Regions from separate parts of the Homo sapiens genome. Here region 1 is linked to region 2. Evidence: promoter capture Hi-C in 16 types of primary human blood cells and fetal thymus (Javierre and others, 2016). All regions are on one chromosome and are shown on one strand. The core of a region is centred on a gene start or on the middle of the fragment in contact, and the rest is flanking DNA. Distances in the headings are between cores, read along the strand shown. Region 1 overlaps TANC2 (tetratricopeptide repeat, ankyrin repeat and coiled-coil containing 2). Region 2 holds the start of STRADA (STE20 related adaptor alpha).

Evidence for each region. Contacts are between HindIII fragments. The CHiCAGO score rates a contact against its expected background, and 5 or more counts as called.
Region 1: a fragment that was not itself captured here is called in contact with the fragment with the promoter of STRADA in region 2 in 1 of 17 cell types (naive CD4 T cells); the score reaches 5.0 in naive CD4 T cells.

Annotation. Positions count from the first base shown.
Region 1 is chr17:63,417,722-63,423,342 of GRCh38, reverse strand. It overlaps TANC2 (tetratricopeptide repeat, ankyrin repeat and coiled-coil containing 2), which reads right to left. Exons shown (of 28, transcript NM_001394998.1): 27 at 4,936-5,036; 28 at 1-3,344. The coding sequence ends at 1,388. Among named protein-coding and RNA genes, the nearest start is that of CYB561, 26 kb to the left of the region's middle. The HindIII fragment of the contact is 4,766 bases long and covers 45-4,810 here.
Region 2 is chr17:63,739,509-63,744,491 of GRCh38, reverse strand. It overlaps STRADA (STE20 related adaptor alpha), which reads left to right and starts at 2,693. Exons shown (of 13, transcript NM_001003787.4): 1 at 2,693-2,751. RefSeq lists silencers at 2,411-2,530, 4,034-4,202 and an enhancer at 4,068-4,567. The HindIII fragment of the contact is 6,891 bases long and covers 1-4,983 here.

The DNA of each region.
Region 1 (5,621 bases), core at 1,178-3,677, 320 kb after region 2:
ACCTAGAAGATGTGTCTTCTAGACAAGCTTCAAGATCAGAAGCTTGCTGTCTATCTCATGCCCCCACCCAGGGCTGCAAAACAGGGCTGAAAGGGGTCTTTCTTCACCCTGAAACAGTTTTTGCTGCGTCTGACTTTAAAATATCACACTCTCATAAACACTCCTAGAAAAAGAAAAGAAACAGTTCCTGTAATAATAGATAATCAAACTATAGATCTCAAAATGGAAGTAGACAACAACGGGCATGACCCTGGGTGGAAATATTGGGACTCAGTCTCATGGTCCCAAGAGATTCCAATCTGCTTCTGAAAGAAACAATTTCTGTATGACACCATCTGGGTTTACAGGAAGAGGGCCACTAGAACAAAATCTGGCTGTAGGTGAAGATCCAACTAACGGGATTGTCACACCAGCCAGCCTTCGGTTAGAGTTTCCTTTTAGTGGAGTATGACACTCAGTGATGTATCAGGATCTAAAAAGTAGATGTCTCCAGAACAGACTTCCTATAGCCTTTCACTGAGAATCCAGAACAATCTTTTTTGTTTTTCTATGTATTCATTCCCTCCCCCACCCTGGAAAAGCAGCAGCTTTTAGTGGTTAATTGTCGGCTAAAAATCTAGAGAATAACTCTCAGTGAATTCTCTTAATAGCCACAATTCTCATCTAATTTCCTTGGCTGACTGCAATATTTAAAGGGCTGGCTGTTTTTGACATGTTCCTACAATGCCTCTTGGAAAATCAATGTAGTGACATTTTACATAATTATATTGGGGTTTTCTTCCAATTTAGCACTTAATTCTTCTCTCTCTGATCCTTTTACCCCCTAGGAAGACCAGCAATAATCCTAATGCACACTGCAGACCTGGTGGCTGCAGGGCGCTGGCGGTCTGGGGAGGGGCCACAGCATGAGAATGCGCTGCGGCTGGCTGTGTGGGTGACACTGGCTAAGGATGCAAAGGCAAAGGGGCATCGCACTCTTTCTAAAGTTTCTAGAAGAAAACGAACAAGAACACCTTATTTTTTAAAAAAGGAAAAAGACAATTACACAACAAGAACATCAGTGAAAGCGATTGTCTCCTGGAAAAAGCTGACCAGTGTGTCTGATCTCCCTGGGTTAAAGCACACAGCACGAAAATCTCCTCGTTGGCATCTGAAGAGAGGGAGAGAGCATGTGGCTGGGCACAGACAAGAGAAACTGAAGTCCTGGCTCCCGGGAGGCCGCTTCCCAGTCGGCTGCATGCAAAGGATTTCAGCATGTGGGCTGCCACCTCTGAACACCACACAGAAACTACATGAGAAATTAAGCCAGAGAACTACCTCGAATGTGGAAACCAAGCCTGAAAATGTGCAGTGAAAACATATGGGTCTCACTCCAACAAAACGTCTTTTAAACATTAGACTCCACGAACGGTCTCTTTGGTTTGATAGGGGATGTCTGCCCTTGCCGAGAGTCTCGGGACAGCTGCCTGTACAGGTTGTCCTGGTATGCCTGAGCCACAGGTAGAGTCCGAGCTACCTTCACGTCGGGATAGGAGGAGGCCTGGCTGACTCGCTCCAAGAGGTCTCCACGAGACCCGTTAGCCAGCATCCCATGGGGGCTGTAATAATCGTCCTCCAGCAAATGGCCATTCTGTGCATTGTTGGTTTTGTTATAAAAGGCAATGTTGCTGATGGATGATGGTGGACTGAAGGACTCAGGCTGAGGCAGGTTGCCTGGAGACGTGGGACTGAGGACGGTGTCCACAGATGACACTGCCCAGGTCCGATTCTGCTGGTGGAGGTGGGGGTACTGCTGAGTCCGTGCTGTTTTATCTATGATCCCCATGAATGGTGTGGTCCTGGATCGGGTGGGCTCACTGGGGTAACCTCCTTGAGTTGGAGACACTGGCGACAGCTCGTCACATGACCTCTCATATGCAGGTTTCAGTGGGATCTCCATTTGCTGGATGGAAGAAGATGGCCGGAAGGTCGGAGTTAGGTTGGAGGTGGAGGAGATACTATTGCTAGATGGAGAGAAGCGAAGGCCTACACTTTGGGAATGCAGCAACGGCCTGGGAGTTGGCGGGTGCGGTTTGATTTCGTTAGGGTTGACACTGATAGGTCTTCTGATTAAATGCGACACATCAGGGGAACCTAGTTGGCTGGAGGAGCGCTCCAGATCTAGTTTTGAGTGACAGACTGGGTAATAGGATGCTGACTGGCTGCGTCCGATCTGTGGTGTCTGGCTGTATCTCACGCCACCTCGGTATGCTGAGGAAGGTCGCTGTGGAAGATCCTCTTTGGTCAATCCTCCATGCTGACAGATGGCGCCTGCACTCAGGCTGGCTTGGACATGCTGCACCGGCCTTCCATCCCCTACGATTCCCCCAATTGACCCTTGATAAACCAACCGGCTCTGGCTGACTCCTATGTCTCCTTGTGAAGACTGGTATTTACTGGCCATTGAATGGGCTACTTGGCCATAGGCTCCTGTGGGGATGACGGTGCTTGAATGGACGGCTGGGCTGGGCTGGTTACTTCTCACAATCTGGGCCTTGGCAGGCTGTAGCCTGAGCCCTTGCTGGGGAACTGCCACAGGGAGCTGAGGCATCTGGTAGGGCCGCTGGGCCATTTTGGATAATGGAGATTTGGGTCTGCCAGGAAGCTGACTGACGCTTGTTTCCTGCTGATAGCGCACGGGTGAACCAGACTGGGATCTATAGACACTCATACTTTCAGCTGGAGGGCTGGCCCGATACTGAGGGCCTCTCCGGAGAGGGGAAGGGGGAGGGCTTGGGTATTCTTTGCCCTGTCCTCCCACAGGAGGGGGGCTGAAACGGTAAGATCCTCCCTGATGAGCCGGGGAAGTGTGTGGTGGGCTAGGCCTGTAATGTGAGTTCTGATGAGTTGGAGAAAGGGCAGGTGAGGTGGACTGATAGGTCTGTCTAGTGGGAGAGCCTACAGAACTACTGGACCGGAAGTCAAAAACCTGATGAGAGCCAAGAGGTGAGCTGGAGATGTAGGCTGAGTCCCGATGCGGGGGAGAGGAGGGTGGGCTCTGGATGACCGGGAGCCCCTGGCTGGGCCGGGCCTCTGTCTGGAGGCCAATGGAAACATTTTCAACATCCTGTTCCAGGTACTCCTCCTCGAATATATCCTGTACAGAGTATATGTCTTCATGCTGTGGCTCAGGTTCTGCTTCTTCCGGCAACTGCTGCTGAGGCTGCGGTGGCGGCGGTGGCTGCTGTGGCTGCTGCATCTGTCTACACTCTTCTTCCACTCTCAGCAGAAGTCTCTGGATCTCACGGTTGTTGGGACACAGCTTGATGGCCTCGTTCAGGTCCTCTAAGGCTGCTGCGAACTGTCTGCTTGACAAAATGTGAACACAGGAACTGGAGTTATTCTGAATCCAGAGAAATCACCAAGAGCTGAGAACATGGTCACTATCTCAGAGAGCTGTGGTGGCGTCTGTGGGAGTCTGGGGTATTTCGGTTTAGTTGGATTTATAGGGAAGGAAACAGGAAGACTCATTCTGGAAGAGTCCGAATGATTCCCTAACCCATTCGGCCTCCATCTTCCTTCTGGCCTCTCTGGGAATAGTGGAGAAATGCCCCATTTTGTCAGTCCAGCCAGGCCCTTCGGGAAGTTGTTTTGGTGCCCAAACACACACCAGGCAGTATGAGAGTTGGGTGGGGTTGTCATTTACAGGGTCACTGTCAAGTAGCTTAGGAACAAAAAAAACTACATATTTAAAAATCTTGCTGATCCAGCAGAAATTTTTCTTTATATTCTCAATATTTTAGCTCCAAATTTCAGGCCTGTTCTACTCTAGGCAAGAACCCTGTCCTCTGCCCTTTCTAACCCTCATCTCTCAGAATTGCTGTGTCTCCATTTGCTCTATCAAAGTGGGGCAGGCATTAGGCTTGCTGACTAGGTCACTCGGGGCTGGAGCTGAGCTGACTCCAAGGAGACTCTAATTTACAAATGAAGAAATGAACTGTCAGAGACATTCCCATCTTCTCTACTAATATCACCTGACAGGGGCAACTGACCTTGTGAAAAAGGAACTACCCAGAGGGAAGGAGAATTTCAGTCAGATTTCTGTGAGGACTTCGTTGCCCCAGCTAGGTAAGAGTGCGATCACTGCCACCACCATCACTAGCCTCAAGCTGGGTGTGATTTTCGGGACCATGTGCCCCTGGCCATAGCAGTGAACCTGAAGCAGTTCTTTCCCATGCAGCTGGGGAGGAGGAGGGCAGGAGGCATAAGAGACAGTGACAAGTTACACAAAGATCACTGATGGCAGGTTCTAGGTTATTCTGGGAGCTTTTCTGCCCAGTGGCCAAACTAAAGCAGATGGGCACAAGGAATGTGGAATGGTGTTCTCTTAGAGGGTCCTCTCCATCCTGGCAGCAAGGACCTCTTGACTCTGTGTGTGTGTGGTGGGTGATGGTTTAGGTGGAAGGGGGTCTGATGCCACCAGACTTGAGGAGAGCCCCAGAGGGAAGACTAACTAATCCGGGATTCCTCAAACGCCTATGGGAGAAGGAAGAGGAACCTGTGATGTTAAGTGAACCATCCTACTTTCCCTCTAAAGCGGGGGTGGGGTGCTCTGCTTAAGTGATTTCTTTAAGTCGCCGTTGTCTCTTTGTGCTAGCTGCTCTGGGGGTTGAAAAATGCCTGAGATACGGCAGAGGCTTCTTGGAAGAAGCTGCCATTCTCCAGTGAAAAAGTGTTTTTCTCCCGAAGTGAAACATTCGTGGCCTCCACAGCCCAGCAGATTTGCTGATCTTGAGCTGAGGGCTGTGCTATGGGAGCCATCCCCAAAGCTTGGCCCTGACAGTTCTCAAGGACAGAGATGTATTTGGGTACATATGCCCCAGGGTGGCCGACGCTGCCTTGGCCAAATTTTCAGAAAAGAGACCTCTTGCTTTCACCCTCTCTCTCTCTCCTCACCTGCTGCTGCGTTTTGCCCTTGCTCTCGCATAGTAAGCTTCATAAGATTTCGGTTTCAGCTCCAGGGCCTTAGTAGCAAATTCCTCCGCCATTCCAAAATCCTGTCATTACAATAGGTGTGCAAATGAGTCATTGATGAGATATAAAAAATAGACAACTTGGGAATAAAACAAATTATTTGTACATTTTTTGACATTCATGGATGGAACGCCTGGGACGCTAGACGTGCCTGACATGGCTCAAGCCGCGTGGCCTGTGGACTGAAAGTTCCTTCTGCCTTTGTCCTGTGTAGCGCTGCGACTGCTCACTGGACTTTATCTGCCCAGAATATTAAAATAGTTTTAATTTTCCCTCTTTTTGCCTTTCTAATAAAGTTCTCAGCCCGGAAGCCAAACACCAACCCTTTCCAGTGAAGCTCCTGAAGTTATCCATGCATGTAGGAGGCAAACGCACACATGTCCACATTTCACGTGGACCCTGGTCTGAGCCCCACACCTTCCTGCTACATGCACTACACTGTGGCTTTCTAAGGGACAGGTGAGAAGGTGTCCTGTAAAGTCCGGGAGGATGACGTCTGTAAAGGAAACTGCACTGACTACAGAGACTAGAGGGAGAGGGGGTGTCAGACAGACCTGGGTTCAATTCTCTGACCAGCTTCATAACCCCCAAGTGTATAGTGTATTTTC
Region 2 (4,983 bases), core at 1,444-3,943:
CTTTTTTTTGTTTTTGAGATGGAGTCTCACTGTGTTGCCCAGGCTGGAGTGCAGTGGTGCAATTTCGGCTCACTGCAACCTCCATCTCCCAAGTTCAAGCAATTCTCCTACCTCAGCCTCCAGAGTAGCTGGGACTACAGATGTGTGCTACCACGCCCTGCTAATTTTTTATATTTTTAGTAGAGATGGGATTTCACTGTGTTAGCCAGGATGGTCTCGATCTCCTGACCTCGTGATCCACCCACCTCGGCCTCCCAAAGTGTTGGGATTACAGGCGTGAGCCAGTGCGCCTGGCCCTAACTCCTTTCTTTAGATGGAATTTAGACCAAAGAAAAACATTGATTTCTTATTCCACCCATTCAGTAGGAATTGGCAATTCAGTAGGAATTGTTTAGAATTGTGTTGTACAAGAATCCAGTGGATTTGGCAGGAAGAGGTGAAACACTGTGCTTTATCATCCCAGGTTCTCATTCCTTACCATTCCTGCCTCCTCTCATTTTGAATGATGTGAAACGATGTAAGAGAGACAAGAGGCCGGGCGCGGTGGCTCATGCCTGTAATCCCAGCACTTTGGGAGGCCGAGGCAGGCAGATCACATGAGGTCAGGAGTTCAAGACCAGCCTGGCCAATATGGCAAATCCCCGTCTCTACTAAAAATACAAAAATTAACCGGGTGCGGTGGCACAAACCTGTAATCCTAGCTACTCAGGAGGCTGAGGCAGGAGAATCGCTTGAACCCAGGAGGCAGAGGTTGCAGTGAACCAAGATTGCACCACTGCACTCCAGCCTGGGCAATAGAGCAAGACTTCCGTCTCAAAAAAAAAAAAAAAAAAAGAGTTATACCCATAGGAGTGTCTTCTGTTACAGACTGCTAAAACAGAACAGTTCTGAGACAATATGTTTTCTCTACCCATTTGTAATGGCTGCAAGAAGTTTAGCATCTTTTCAGACAGTCTCTCTAATACTCGGTTCCAAAAGACCACATGTGAAAGACCCTTCAGTAGAACACTGCTAGAAATTTTACTTCTCTGTTTATACTCTGTTGCTTTGTGAGTTTACCAAGTTTGCTCCTGAGAGTGGCATCTTATTTTGAGAATGAGAGCATGTGAGGGTAGCCCTTAGCAATGTCAAAGCACTCGATAAAATCAAAATGATGTGGCCCAGCACAGATGGCTCACACCTGTAATCCCAGCACTTTGGGAGGCCGAGGCTGGTGGATCACCTGAGGTCAGGATTTTAAGACCAGCCTGACCAATATGGTGAAACCTCGTCTCTACTAAAAATACAAAAATCAGCCAGGCGTTGTGGCGTGCGCCTGTAGTCCCAGCGACTTGGGAGGCTGAGTCAGGAGAATTGCTTGAGCCCAGGAGGCAGAGGTTGCAGTGAGCCCAGATCACGTCACTGCATTCCAGCCTGGGCAACAGAGCAAGACTCCATCTCAAAAAAAAAAAAAAAAAAAATCAAAGTGATGTATGTAAGATCAAATGAGAACTCATGTGCATACAGGTCCCACAGTTTCAGGGGCATATTTCTTTTTTTCTTTTTTTTTTTTTTTTTTTTTGAGACGGAGTCTCGCTCTGTCGCCCAGGCTGGAAGTGCAGTGACGCGATCTCTGCACACTGCAAGCTCCGCCTCCCGGGTTCAGGCCATTCTGCTGCCTCAGCCTCCATAGTAGCTGGGATTACGGGCGCCTGTCACCACGCCCGGCTAATTTTTTTGTACTTTTAGTAGAGACGGGGTTTCGCCGTATTAACCAGGATGGTCTCGATCTCCTGACCTAGTGAACCACCCGCGTCGGCCTCCCAAAGTGCTGGGATTACAGGCGTGAGCCACCGCGCCCGGCCTTCCAGGGGCATATTTCTATAAGTCCCTACTTGGATGTAGCTAAACTCCTCCCCCAGTCTTGGAAGTTAGGACGGTCTAAATCTGTGTCAAAGCTCAGAGCTGGCAAGAGCGAGTGTTCATTACCTGATGGTATATATCCGCGTTTTGGATACCCCCTCCTGCGCACGCGGGGGATAAGTCACTGAAAAACCTAGTCTCACAGGAGTGAGGCTTAGTTCATCGCTTCCTCATTTCTCAAGCTCTGCATAACCTGGCTTGGACAAACCTGATAGGTTTCCACAAACGGCTTCAGCTGTGGATGAGGAAGGCTTCGGGGGAAAAAAAAAGATACTGAGGGGACAAGATCGTTTTCATTAGTTGAGCTATTTTCCTTGTTTTACAAATAGTGGGGAGCAAAGAAAGGATGGGCTTCCCCTTTGCAGCTTGTTGTCTGGTGCCCGAGAGGCCAAAGTGAGGGGCATTTGAGATGTCGTCCAAGAAAAGTGCGAGGCGGGTTTTCCATTAGAAGTCCTACCACATGAAATGAGAAAAACACAATTCTCAGGAACAGCCAAGTTTGCCTTTCTCTGGTCCTTCATTGTTGAAGCCACCTGCTTCCCCCTCCTGCTGCGGGGGCGGAGGCTGTAGGCGGAAGCGCTGCGCGGCGGGAAAGACAACGGGAACTGAGAACCGCTCTCGGCGCGGCGGCGGCTGCTAGGGCCTGCCGCAGCCGCGGCCACTCGGAAAGGGCGGGACTTCCCCGCAGGGCGGGGTGGGGCGGAGCGCTCTATCAGTCCTCCCGGTCGCCCCACTGCGCATGGCACGTTGCGTACTCCCCTCCCAGCAACCGGTCTGGCGGCGGCGCGGCAGTAAAACTGAGGAGGCGGAGCCAAGACGGTCGGGGCTGCTTGCTAACTCCAGGAACAGGTACCTGCCTGGCGGGGTGCCTGGTACGCTGCCGGGGCCAGTCCCTCCTGGCTCTGCCACCGATTCCATCTCCCCAGGCCCGGGCCTTCGTCGGAGCGGCCATCCTGGGCTCACCTCACCCTCCACGGGCCCCCTTTTTAACCCGCGTCCTCGACTCCCGCAATGAGGCGCCGCAGCCCGAGAGCAGAATAGGCTTGGGCCTGGCGGGGAGACGCTGAAGCGGAGTTGCCGGGCGAGAGAGGCGGGCTCCTGCTTTCCCCTTCCTCCCCACCCCCTAGGACTTCCAGGTGGGGAACCTAGGGCTGGGTGCCGGTTTGTCCTGTTCAGGCAGAGTGGCGGCCGACCCCGGTCCTGGGCTCCCCGCTGTCCCCAGCCGCCGCGCACTTTGGGCTGACAGGCAGCGGGTCAAGTCCTCGTAAGGACACAAGATCCAGATGACTCCCAGAATCGGCCTAAACGAAGAGCTCATTGTCTTTTTGTTTTCCAGAAATGTTTTTTGGGTGCCTGCAGGGGATTTGGGCGCCGGAGATGGGGGTTGGGGATAAGGAAGAGAGCTCGAGGGAGGGGCAGTGGGTAGGTAAAATTGTTCATAGTTCTCAGGAAATAGGGAACTAACCTCTCTGCCCAGCCTTCTCCTGTATCCTAACATACTTTAACTTGACTTTCCCGGAGAAAGAGCCGTTGGAATTTGCCCTTTTCTTATTGTAATATCTGTTCAAGTAGAAGCATGTTCCAATACGTATATGCGACGTTAAGACAATTCTTCATTGACACTCATACCTTCCTGAAGACACCCAGGACTGTTTCTTGTCCCTGAGAGTTAAGGAAGAAACCAAATTTGATCACCTGCCAAAAGCCTGTGAATTCAGCCTTTAGTTACAGTGCTGAACTGGTCAAATCTGTCCCCTACTTTTTAATCAGATTTCTTAGAGGTGTTTTGGCTGGAATGCAGTGTTTATAGTTGTGGCCCCAGAAATGGAGGAAGTTTACTCTGGTTTTTAGAGCGCAGGCTTTGGAACAGATTTAATTAGTCCCCTACCACTTATCTGTGTGACTTTGGGCATTTAACCTCCCTGCACACCTGAATTTCCTGATCCGTAAAACAGAGATGATAATACTTGTGAGCTGCTCATGAAGCATTTAGCACAGTGCCTGACACGTAGGAAGTTTGCCATAAATGTTTGCTGGGTTTATTATTTTCTCTCTTTATTTTTATTTTAATTTTTTTGAGATGGAGTTTCGCCCTCGTCCCCCAGGCTGGAATGCAATGGCGCGATCTCCGCTCACTGCAACCTCGGCCTCCTTGGTACAAGCAGTTATCCTGCCTCAGCCTTCCGAGTAGCTGGCATTACAGGCACCCCCCACCACACCTGGTTAATTTTTGTATTTTCAGTAGAGACGGGGTTTCACCATGTTGGTCAGGCCGATCTCTGAGGTCCTGACCTCAGGTGATCCACCAGCCTCGACCTCCCAAAGTGCTGGGATTACAGGCGTGAGCCACCGCGCCCGGCCAATAAAGCTATTTCTATGTCTGTCCACTAGTAATATTGCTTTGTTGTGTGTGTGTGTGTGTGTGTGTGTGTGTGTGTGTGTATATATATATATGTATGTGTATATATATATGTATGTATGTATATATATATATATATATATAGTGTTAAATGTTTCTGATAGGCTGGGTACCGTGGCCCACCTCTGTAATCCCAGCACTTTGAGAGACTGAGGCAGTAGGATTGCTTGAGCTCCGGAGTTTGAAACCAGGAACAGGTACCTGCCTGGCGGGGTGCCTGGTGCACTGCCGGAGCCAGTCACTCCTCGCTCTGCCACCGATTCCATCTCCCCAGGCCCGGGCCTTCGTCGGAGCAGCCGTCCCGGGCCATATAATTATGTACATTATATGTATATACATATAATTATGTACATTATATGTATATACATATAATTATGTACATTATATGTATATATGTACATATATACATAAATATATAATGTATCAATATGTATACATAATATATACACATAAAATTATATATGTATACATATTAATACACTATGTACATATATAATATATACATATATGCATAATATATAATATACACATACATATGTATTTCTTAATTTTTGATAAGTGTGGATATATCTTTCGAATGATATCCATCTGCCCTCCCCTTCCATTAGAATTTACATTTTAAGGACATTTACATTTGCATTTTAAGGAAATTTGAAGGGAGC